4 separate regions of the Homo sapiens genome follow, and regions 1, 2 and 3 are each linked to region 4. The links are contacts of gene promoters, found by promoter capture Hi-C in blood cells and fetal thymus (Javierre and others, 2016). All regions are on one chromosome and are shown on one strand. The core of a region is centred on a gene start or on the middle of the fragment in contact, and the rest is flanking DNA. Distances in the headings are between cores, read along the strand shown. Region 1 overlaps UBP1 (upstream binding protein 1). Region 2 has its middle 4.0 kb from the start of UBP1. Region 3 overlaps UBP1 (upstream binding protein 1). Region 4 holds the start of CLASP2 (cytoplasmic linker associated protein 2).

Evidence for each region. Contacts are between HindIII fragments. The CHiCAGO score rates a contact against its expected background, and 5 or more counts as called.
Region 1: a fragment that was not itself captured here is called in contact with the fragment with the promoter of CLASP2 in region 4 in 3 of 17 cell types (non-activated CD4 T cells, naive CD4 T cells and activated CD4 T cells); the score reaches 6.7 in non-activated CD4 T cells.
Region 2: a contact is called between a fragment that was not itself captured here and the fragment with the promoter of CLASP2 in region 4, in 2 of 17 cell types (non-activated CD4 T cells and naive CD8 T cells). The highest score is 5.4, in non-activated CD4 T cells.
Region 3: a fragment that was not itself captured here is called in contact with the fragment with the promoter of CLASP2 in region 4 in 6 of 17 cell types (naive CD8 T cells, total CD8 T cells, activated CD4 T cells and 3 more); the score reaches 6.3 in naive CD8 T cells.

Annotation. Positions count from the first base shown.
Region 1 is chr3:33,405,896-33,408,686 of GRCh38, reverse strand. The region is part of intron 8 of UBP1 (upstream binding protein 1); the gene reads left to right. It also overlaps a transcript of FBXL2 not described here. Among named protein-coding and RNA genes, the nearest start is that of UBP1, 33 kb to the left of the region's middle. The HindIII fragment of the contact is 1,663 bases long and covers 459-2,121 here.
Region 2 is chr3:33,442,947-33,445,839 of GRCh38, reverse strand. No RefSeq gene overlaps it. Among named protein-coding and RNA genes, the nearest start is that of UBP1, 4.0 kb to the right of the region's middle. The HindIII fragment of the contact is 4,305 bases long and covers 1-2,893 here.
Region 3 is chr3:33,423,562-33,426,291 of GRCh38, reverse strand. It overlaps UBP1 (upstream binding protein 1), which reads left to right. Exons shown (of 16, transcript NM_014517.5): 2 at 551-702. Among named protein-coding and RNA genes, the nearest start is that of UBP1, 15 kb to the left of the region's middle. RefSeq lists an enhancer at 1-197. The HindIII fragment of the contact is 2,559 bases long and covers 34-2,592 here.
Region 4 is chr3:33,716,908-33,719,607 of GRCh38, reverse strand. CLASP2 (cytoplasmic linker associated protein 2) reads left to right here and starts at 1,354. Exons shown (of 39, transcript NM_001365631.1): 1 at 1,354-1,800. The coding sequence starts at 1,606. RefSeq lists an enhancer at 993-1,082 and a silencer at 1,283-1,622. The HindIII fragment of the contact is 12,344 bases long and covers 1-2,700 here.

The sequences.
Region 1 (2,791 bases), core at 41-2,540, 310 kb after region 4:
AGGGACTTCTGCTTCTCTTTTCATTGTGCAAGAAACCTTGTGCAGTGTTAGATATAGGACCAACTTCCACCGCAAAGTAAAGCCAAAATTGTTTTTGATGTCCATGTCTTGATTTAATTTGCTTTTGTTTAGACTTCCTGCTTCTGTTTGTTCCTCACTGAGGAAAATTTCCTAAATCTAACACTTTAAAACAAAGCAAAAAACAATGTTGACCATATTGGGTGGTTTTGGAGGGAAAAAAAGACACTCAGAGATATGTATTCCCTCCCTGACTCCTTCCCTTCCTCCTTCCCTCCCTCTCTCCTTCACACACACACCTCCTTCAAGAGCACTGAAATTAATTGAAAATACTTTCTTTAGTAAATTAGCTATTATTTTTGTGTAACTGAAAAGGGTCTTGCTTTCTCATGTGTATACTTGATAAAATTTTGTGGACAGTTAGATGATGGCAGCAAGCTTGACATTAACACGTGCAGTTCTTTGTTACATTTTTCTGCATGTAGTATAAAAATGTGTGTCTGTCTATGCTTCTAAGAGCCTGTTTGGCAGCACTGGTAGAAAAAAAAAAACTCTGATGGGATTCATGTTTCTTCTTGGCAGTTGCATTGTGAATTAATGCTTCAGGCCAAAGTAGTGTACCTTGCTACACCTAGACCTGGGCCGCCCCCAATATGCAGTCAGGGGGCATCTGGTTGAATATGTGCTTTGTCCAGTTAAGTATAGCAAATCTTTATTTTATGACATGACTCTTCATCTATTAGTCCACAAACGATGATCCTGCTTTGCAAACTTAGATCAGCTACATACCTTCAGTAAATATAAACACAGAACATTAAAGAATCATTTAAAATAATTGTCATCATATGTATTCGTGACTGCTGTATTCACTGTTGCAGTCTTTGCACTATTAAAGTACCAGAGGATTTTTCATTCTTACACATATCGCAATTGCTGTGGTTAAATGTAGACTTTGAATGTTACTGTCACAAGCACTATCACAAGAAACTCATTTCCAATTATAGTATCGAATAAAAATGTTTTAATGCTTCTCTATGCAATGAAACTGAAATTGTACTCATCCTAGTGCCACTGGAAGCACACGTTACATTTTCTTTAACTGGGCTTTTTTTTTTTTTTTTAAATAAATTCGAATCAAAGATTGTTAAAACAGCTGTATATTCTTTCCTAAAACACCCGCCCCAGCAATTTTGTTTTTATCCTCTTCTGATTTCTCAGCTGAAGACCCACCAATGGTTCTTAGTAAACTTCTTTGGGGGGGATTCTGGCAACTCACTTTTCCTCTCCTGTTATAAACCATTTAACTAATAAAGAAGTAGGTTCTGGTAATTCCTAAATAAAAGAAATTCATTATAGCCCAGAGGTAATCTGAAGATGGGAAAACTGTTGGTAAATTCTTAATGATTCTTAAGTCTAAAGTATGCAAAACGTCAGCAGTTCACTGGCCTGGGATTTCACATCTTCCTCATGTATTGCTTACTGCCCTGGCTGTATTTGATTTTGTTCAGATGCTTTTAGGGGTGGTTAGAGCTCATCTTGAAAACCTGTTTTTAAAAATGCAGGGTACAGATTGTCACTTAAAAAGGAAAGTTTGCAGAATTTCATATGTTTCTTCAAACTCCTACAAAGGAAGGCCAACATTTCATAGAGTTTTTGGCTAGTTACAATTGGCTTTCAGTAAAAAGGGATATCCAGACTTACTGTTAGAGTCGAAAAGATGCCGAATGAAATGGTGCCACACTGAATAGTCACTACTGTTGGTTACCAGGAGATGCCGTACAACAAAACTCTTAGTGTGTCTGTTGGTCTTCATCTCTGAGCTGTATATGATTGGCTCAAATGATGACTGCCAATTTCTACAGCCTAAAATGGGTGATCATTCTTTACCTGGGGAGGGACTGTGTTCACAGTGTACCGAAACCATAACTATGAGCCCAGGCCAGGCATTGCTAGCGCCGTTATGAATTCAGGAGCATAGGCACTGCACCATCGCTTGCTTTTCGAATGTTAGAAGAATCTAAATATCTAAAAGCAAAATGGGTATTTATGGAGTTTTGGTAAACTTGGTGTTTCTACATTACTCTGCCATGCTAACTTGAAGCTTTTTGATGGCTTCATTTCTTCAAATGGCTGGCAATAATTACAAAAAGTTTAGAGAGACTTGATACTTTTAATATTAAATGGTTTACATTATTTATACATGTATGTTATGCTGTGTTATGTTTTATATGTGCAGGGGGATGTTGTAGCAGGAAAATCTTTCAGATAGTAGAGGTGAGGTGACAGTGTGTGATACCCATGATTAGATTTGCTAGTCAGCTCACAGGGTCTTGGGTTCATCAAACAGTGTAAACTGAGGAGGTGATACTTTGTAAGGTGGAAAGAAAAACAAGGGTCTAGTTTTTTAGTTATTTATTTATTTTTTTGAGATGGGCTTTCACTGTATTGCCAAGGCTGACCTCAATCTCCTCAAGCAGTCCTCCTGCCTCAGACTTCTGAGTAGTTGGACCACAGGTGTGTGTGTGCCATCACACCTGGCTTAAAAGGCCCTAATTTTAAAAGAATGGGCATTGTTGTGTAAAATGTAATTTATAGCAAAGTTGCTATGCCATGCAATAAGTTTATTCAAAGCTCTCCAGCTAAATTAGATTTCTTTTTTGAAAGCTGACTGATAATAGAAGTAATAAGTCTGCAATCATTTTTCTTTTTTAAGGAGATACATAATTGGGTAGTTGAGATTATTTTCCATGTATCCATTGCTTTTGATGGATGT
Region 2 (2,893 bases), core at 100-2,599, 270 kb after region 4:
GGCAGGCAGATCACGAGGTTAGGAGGTCGAGACCATTCTGGCCAATATGGTGAAACCCCGTCTCTACTAAAATACAAAAAAATTAACCAGGCATGATGGCGGGCACCTATAGTCCCAGCTACTCAGGAGGCTGAGGCAGGGGCATCACTTGAACCCAGGAGGAGGAGGTTGCAGTGAGCCGAGATCGCACCACTGCACTCCAGCCTGGCAACAGAGCAAGACTCTGTCTCAAAAAAAAAAAATTAAACAATTAAAAAACCCCAATATAGATAACTGATGTTAATACCTTTATTACCTCATAATCAGTCAAAAACTTTAGTCCACTCCTCTTAACCAATATCATAAATTTAAAAAAAAACATTGCCAGGAGGCCTTCAGTCTTGTAGATACAGACATCATTTATTGTCTCTTTTTCCATAATTTAGAATAAATGAAGCAATGATTAGAAATTTATCCCTCATGGCCAGGCATGGTGGCTCACACCTGTAATCCAACACTTTGGGAGGCTGAGGCGTGTGGATCACATGGTTAGGAGTTCGAGACCAGCCTGGCCAAAATGGTAAAACCCTGTCTCTACTAAAAACACACACACACACAAAAAAACAAAAAAACCTGGGCATAGAGGTGCACGTCTGTAATCCCAGCTACTCAGGAGGCTGAGGCAGGAGAATCACTTGAACCCAGGAGGTGGAGGTTGCAGTGAGCCGAGATTGTGCCACTGCACTCCCGCCTGGCAACAGAGTGAGACTCTCTCAAAAAAAAAAAAAGGAAAAAAAAAGAAATTTATCCCTCATGGCCGGGCGCGGTGGCTCACACCTGTAATCCCAGCACTTTGGGAGGCCGAGGTGGGTGGATCTCCTGAGGTCAGGAGTTCAAGACCAGCCTGGCCAACATGGTGAAACCCCATCTCTACTGAAAAAAAATATACAAAAAATTAGCTGGGCATGGTGGCGGGTGCCTGTAATCCCAAAAACTCAGGAGGCTGAGGCAGGAGAATCACTTGAACCTGGAAGGCAGAGGTTGCAGTGAGCCAAGATTACACCATTGCACTCCAGCTTGGGCAACAAGAGCAAAACTCCATCTCAAAAAAAAAAAAGGCCGGGCATGATGGCTCACGCCTGTAATCCCAGCACTTTGGGAGGCTGAGGTGGGCGGATCACAAGGTCAGAAGATCGAGACCATCCTGGCTAACATGGTGAAACCCCGTCTCTACTAAAAACAGAAAAAAATTAGCTGGGTGTGCTGGCGGGCACCTGTAGTCCCAGCTACTCGGGAGGTTGAGGCAGGAGAAAGGCATGAACCCGGTAGGTGGAGCTTGCAGTGAGCCGAGATCGCTCCACTGCACTCCAGCCTGGGTGACAGAGCAAGACTCCGTCTCAACAAGTAAAAAAAAAAAAAAGAAAGAAAAAGGAAATTTATCCCTCATAGTAGACTCTATAGCTGACTCTACTGCAAAGGCCATGGCACAACAGACTTTAAGTTCTCTTGCTAAAGTTGTGCTAGATAACGGAATTGCTGTATATTACTTACTGAGATACAGAGAAGTATGTATCTCTGTATGCAGATACTTCTCTGTATCTGCATACAGAGAAGTATGTATCTCTGTATGCAGATACAGAGAAGTATCTGCAGTTGCTCACACTTCTTGTTGCACAGAGATGAACATATCAGGTATTATAGAGATTCAGTTACAGGGGATTAATAAACAAGCTGCTTGGTTAAAACAGCTTGATCTTTTATCTAGCTCTTTCTTTGATCTATTTGATTTTAGTTAGTTTAGTTCATGTTGACCCTGGCTAAGGGGCATACTCCAAAGTCTTGGTATTATCCTCTTGGTAATCTTAATAGTAGTCTCCTATGTGCACTAAGGACTTTCAAAAGTTTTAAATGTTTACATACAATCATCCATAAAATGTCCATAAAATTTAAATAAATAAAAATTCCAACATAATAAAAAAAAAGTATCCTCTACTCTAACGCTTACCAGAAAATAACCTAAAGTCCTTATTCGCACCTTACAAAACCCACTGTTGTACTATTTCCCAATGGGATTTGCGACCAGATAAGTACATTTACAATGGTCAGAAAGTAATGTCAATGTCTAGGATTTTGGTCAACCTCTCTATTTTGGTCAAGTTGAGAGGTTGAACAAAAGGGGAGAAATTGTTAAATTGAGTTTAGCCTAAAGTTGCCTCCTTATAAGTTCAGCCTAAAGGTTTCTCTGTACACAGTAAATTGTAACCTAACTGGATGTATAAATGGTCTATAACCTATTATAACAATCGCTGAGTTTTGGCTAATTACAGGAGGCCAACTGTTCAAATAATACACTCAACCAATCAAGCTGTTTTTATATCTCACTTCTGTTTTCCGTACATCACTGTCCTTTTTCTGTCCATAAATCTTCTTCCACCATGCAACAGTGTTGGAGTCTCTCTGAACATATTCTGGTTCGGGGTGGCTACCTGATTGACAAATCTTTTTTTTGCAAAATTAAACTCTTATATTTAATTTGTCTAAAGTTTTCTTTTAACACTATCCTTCTTTTATATTTTGGTCTCTTTATGACATTACTATTTAGCGCTGCTTGATACTTCTATTTTTTTTCCAGACAGGGTCTCATCTGTCACCCAGGCTAGAGTGGCATTATCATGGCTCACTGCAAGCCTTGACCTCCTGGTCTCAAGTGATCCTCCCACCTCAGCCTCTGGAGTAGCTGGGACCACAGGTGCAGGTCACCATGTCTGGCTAATTAAAAAAATTTTTTTGGCCAGGAGCGGTGGCTCATGCCTGTAATTCCAGCACTTTGGGAGGCTGAGGCAGGCAGATCACGAGGTCAGGAGATCGAGACCATCCTGGCTAACACAGTGAAACCCTGTCTCTATTAAAAATA
Region 3 (2,730 bases), core at 64-2,563, 290 kb after region 4:
TAGGAGCCATTGTTTTAGATTAGGCATGAAGCTTCATGTTCTTAACACTTGCCAAGGCACAGCAGGGAACTTTTTGTAAAACCCCATTTTAATCAGATGCTTCTTTGTAATTCTATGGTGTCAAGTGTGACCTACCTTTGGCAGCAGTATTATTTCTTGCCTTTCAAATCAAGTAGCTAGGTACTCTTGACTTGCTTTTTTTTTATAGAAAGAATCTGGACCTTAAAGTTTTAAAAGAAGTTTTTAAAGTGCTATATATATATATATATATATATATATATATATATATATATATTCAGAGCTGCCCTGCCGCCCTCCCCCACTTCCCACCCCGAGATAGGGGTTGTTAATGCCATCCTTTAGATGAACCACATAGCATTCATAGTTCTTTTATTCTACATATAATTTCTGATCTTAAAAAAAAAACTATCCCTAAATGTTTATATGCTTTTAAATATTTCAGACAAGATTGGGTGCATTCAGGATGATATGGCTGTAGACAAATATTTCAAACCCAAAGTAAGGTCAGTGTTGATTTTTTGCTTTTCAGTGATGTCTTGGCATTGCCCATTTTCAAGCAGGAAGATTCCAGCCTTCCATTGGATGGTGAAACAGAGCACCCACCCTTTCAGTATGTGATGTGTGCTGCAACGTCACCAGCAGTAAAACTGCATGATGAAACGCTTACTTATTTGAACCAAGGTTAGTGTGGTTATGTCACATTTGACATGTAAGAATTTACAGAAATACAAAATAATATTTTGGCATTGTAGCCTAGATTATTGGTAATAATTAAAAATTAGGTTCTTTTTCTTAAATTTTACAACTTAATGAAAATTGTAGGAATTTTACTGTGAGCAGCTGAAGTACAGTTTGTGTAAACTGATTTGCATTAAAGAGGGTCTGAGGAGGAAGATTTATTACAGGATTTTTAAGACATAATCCAAAGGACTAGCAAGTAGGAAAGGAAGTCAGTTATTTTTAGGGACAGTGATTTCAATATGGAACTTGAGAATGAATCAGAAGTCCAGCTAGCAAGGAACCTGGATTTTGAACATGAAGCAGTTCTGTGCTGAAAATAGACTTAAGCTGCACCAGGATGGAGTCTGTGGCTAAATAAACATCAAATTTTATCCCCTATATCTTGTTTGTAGTTTATGTCAGAGTGTTACATTTCAGTGATATGAAAGGGTTGGTGGGGAAGGAGGGAAAATAGAGATGTGGGGGTAGTTTACCTTTTTTTTTTTGAGACTGAGTTTTGCTCTATCGCCCAGGCTGGAGTGCAGTGGCGCAATCTCGGCACACTGCAACCTCCGCCCCCCAGGTTAAAGCAATTCTCGTGCCTCAGCCTCCCAAGTAGCTGGGATTACAGGCACACACCATCACACCCAGCTAATTTTGTGTAATTTTAGTAGACAGGGTTTCACCATGTTGGCCAGGCTAGTCTCAGACTCCTGACCTTAAGTGATCCGCCTGCCTCGGCATCCCAAAGTGCTGGGATTACAGGCGTGAGCCATTGCACCCGGCCGAGTTTATCTTTGGAAAGAGGAGAGTTTGCCCTTTGCAGTTTGGGCACAGGCTGATGTGACTTACCCCTGTAAACAAAAGTATTTTGAATGCAGGAATTAATTTGTTGGATACATATACTGAAAGCAGGTTGAATTCTGATTTTAAACAATTTTTTGAACATTTTTACTGTTATATGCTCATTGTAGAAAAACTGGGAAATATGTGAAGGGATAATGCCAAAAATTGACTAATATTTTTGGTCTGTTTCTTGAATGTATATACATTTTCTTTCAAAAAATTAGAATTATACATCTGTTCACTTGAGTATATAGTGTTTATTTTTCTGTCATTAAATAGAATTTTTACTCGAAGTTTTGGAAAGAGCAATAGATTTTAGACTTTTACATGTGATTAATCTGAAATGTGGAAGAATAACTTATTTCTACCTTTTCATTTGATATATAAGTTTAGAATCTATAAGGTTTTACCTTCAGGTAGTCCTGTCTCTGGCACTTGTGACAATTCCCTGTTTGTTTTTATATTTAGTGTTTGGATAGGCAATCACTTATTTGAGAGTTAAGTTTTATATTTGAAAGAACCTTAATAACTTATTTGGTAATCTGTTGTAGACATAAAAATAACAGAAGAAACAATGTAGGGGCAAGGATATTCACTGTAACTTTATTTCTAAAGATAAAAAAGGAAATAACCTGAATTTTCCTTACTTGTGGAATAGTCGATTAAGTTCTGTTACATACATACCATGGAATGAATTAGTACACATATACACCCTGTTTAAAGCAACATGTAGGATGTGCATTTATTGGCCTGGGGGAATGCCCATAATTTATCATGGTTGTTCTTAAACCAGATAAAGATATTTCATATCGATAAAAGTCATAATCCACCATCTGTAGTAGTGATATAGTAGACTGACATTAATTGATACTGTGCATCTAGCATTGTACTAAATACATGTGTTAACCTTATTCAGTTCTCACAGTAACTCTAGGAGAGATTTATTCATTTATAGATTAAACTTAGAGCAGTTAATTACCTTGCTCAGTGTCCATTTGGAAAGCTTAGGTTTTAACAAAATTTTTTTGAAGTATTACAGTAATGTGCACAAATCTTAATGAATTTTTACATATATATTCCCTTGAAACTACTACCTATTTCCATCTTTTCCAGTACTCCAGCAGGCTCCCTTGTGCCTCTTTC
Region 4 (2,700 bases), core at 105-2,604:
AACTCAATACAATGTGAAACACAGAAATACTGAAAAAAGAACACAGAAAACAGTCAATTTCTTTGAATTTTGAGTTTGTTTATTCTTAGTTATTGTGAATATTTCAAATATCAATTTTTGTTGAATTCATTCACTCATTTAACTTAAATTGGCCACCCATTATTTGCTAGGCACCACCCTAGGAAAACACAAAGGTTCCTGGAGCTTTCTGTGTATTAGAAGAGAAAGATATTACATAAATAATCATTTTGTTGTGATTGGGAATAATTGTCAAGAAGATAAACACAGTGTGCTTTTGGAATGTATTAGACAACTTTACCCCCACCAGAATGGCTAAAACTAATAACCCTGACCATATCAAATATTGTGGAGCAACTGGAACTCTCAAGCATTGCTGGTGGGGATTTAATATGATCCAGTCACTTTGGTAAACAATTTGGCAGGTTCTTCTAAAGTTAAACATACAACTTACAAGACCTAGTAATGCCAGTCCTTGGTATTTATTTACCCATGAGAGAAGAAAATATATCCACACAAAAACTTGTGCACTAACCGTTGTAGCAGCTTTATTCATAATTATAAAAAATAGGAAACAACCCAAATATCTACCAACAAGTGAATGGATCGACAAATGGTAGTGATTCCACAGAATGGAAAGCAATAAAAAGGAATGGACTTCTGAGACACCAACAGCGCTGGATGGACCCCAAACGTTATGCTAAAAGAAACCAGACTCCAAAGAAGCACAGACTGTATGAAGTTCAGGAACAGGGAAAACTATGTTACCATGCTAGAAATCAAATTAGAATTGCCTAGGGAAGAGCAGATAATTGGGAAGTGTCCTGGGACTTCCTGGGGTGTTGGAAACGTGCTGTACCCTCACTGGGGTGGCGGTTCCACGGGTGAATACATTTGCCGAAACTCATGAAGTGTACGCTGAAAATCTGTGCGTTTTACTTTAGGCAAACCTAAGTTTTGTTTTGTTTTGTTTTTTTAAGTATTACACAGTGACTGTGGTGGTGGCTGGAAGCAGAAGTCAGGAGTGTATTCTTTTTTTTTTTTTTTTTTAAACCGGCAGTGGGGGCGGGAAAGGGGGATGCCAAGTACTTTCCTAAGTGTTGAATACAAGTGGAGGCAAACTTGGAAACGTTCCACATTTCACAGGGCGAGGGCAGGGTGCCCTGACAGCGGCTAGCAAAGAACGGCCCGCCTCCCAGGGGGCTCGGCCCAACTCGGACCCCAAGTCTCCCTAGAGGTCCTATCGCTCCCAGCGGTTTCCGCAGCCACCTCCACCACCTCCGCAGCAAAACGCTAGCCGGACTGGAGGGCCCTCGCCGGCGTCGTGCTGACGTCACGCGCGTGCTGACGTCGCCCGCGGCCGCGGCCTCTGAAGCGGGCTGGGGATCGGGGGGCGCCGAGTTTGACTAGTTTGGGGGCGGCTGGGCGCTTGGCGTTCCTCCCGCCGCCCGCTGCGCCCCGCAAGCCGCGCCCCTGGCGGGCTAAGTGAGTCCCGCCCGCTCCCGCGGGGACCCGCACTGGAGGCTGGGCGGCTCTCGGCGAAAGTTGGCCGCTCACAGACTGGCAGGCGGGCGGGCGGCCGCAGCCATGGAGCCCCGCAGCATGGAGTACTTCTGCGCCCAGGTGCAGCAGAAGGACGTCGGCGGCCGGCTGCAGGTCGGCCAGGAGCTCCTGCTCTACCTTGGCGCCCCCGGCGCCATCTCGGACCTGGAGGAGGACCTGGGCCGCCTAGGCAAGACAGTCGACGCGCTCACCGGCTGGGTGGGTTCGAGCAACTACCGGGTAAGCGACGGCGGCGAGGCTGGGCTGGTCACGCCCTCCGCGGCAGCCCTTTAATCCCGGACGCGAGCGCCGGGCCGGGAAAGCTCCCGTCCGAACCACTGCTTAAGAGGGGAAACACACTTTGGGAAGCACAGGCGGGCGGATCACGAGGTCAGGAGTTCGAGACCAGCCTGACCAACATGGTGCAACCCCGTCTCTACTAAAAATACAAAAATTAGCCGGGCGTGGTGGCGGGCGCCTGTAATCCCAGCTACCCAGGAGGCTGAGGCAGGAGAATCGCTTGAATCTAGCAGGCAGAGGTTGCAGTGAGCCGAGATCGAGCCACTGCACTCCAGCCTGGGCGACAGAGTGAGACTCTGTCTCAAAAAAAGTAAAAAATAAATAAAAATAGGGGAAACAGGGGGGTCCCGCGTCCCCACTGGGCAGACCGCCTCTTCGTACGCGAGCCGAGGACTGACTTGTGACCACATTTTTCTACACTTGTGGACAATGACAAATTCAGCGATTCCGTGACACGTTGCGGAGTTACTAGGACACAATGTTGATCACTTATTTTGAAAAAAAAATCAGTGAAAGACTTCGACATTTGTGTTCACCTGTGTAAACACTACCCAGACCAACAGATAGGACATTAGGATACGATTTTAGGTTGATGTGTCTTAGTAGATAGGCTAATGCTGGGGGGGAAAAAGTTACAAAGATGAGGTGCGAGAAAGAATGAGCCTTTCTGAAGAGTTGGTGGTAGGCAGGGTGTAATGTAGCCGCGTTGGGAGGCCAGGTAAATATTTTGTATTTAACTTGCCCCGTAGTCGTTAGTAGTTACTTTTCTTTCTTGTCTTCTGGTGGCAGTGTTGCTTTAAAATGCTGACTGCAGCTTCCCATGGATGAAGTGATTCTTCT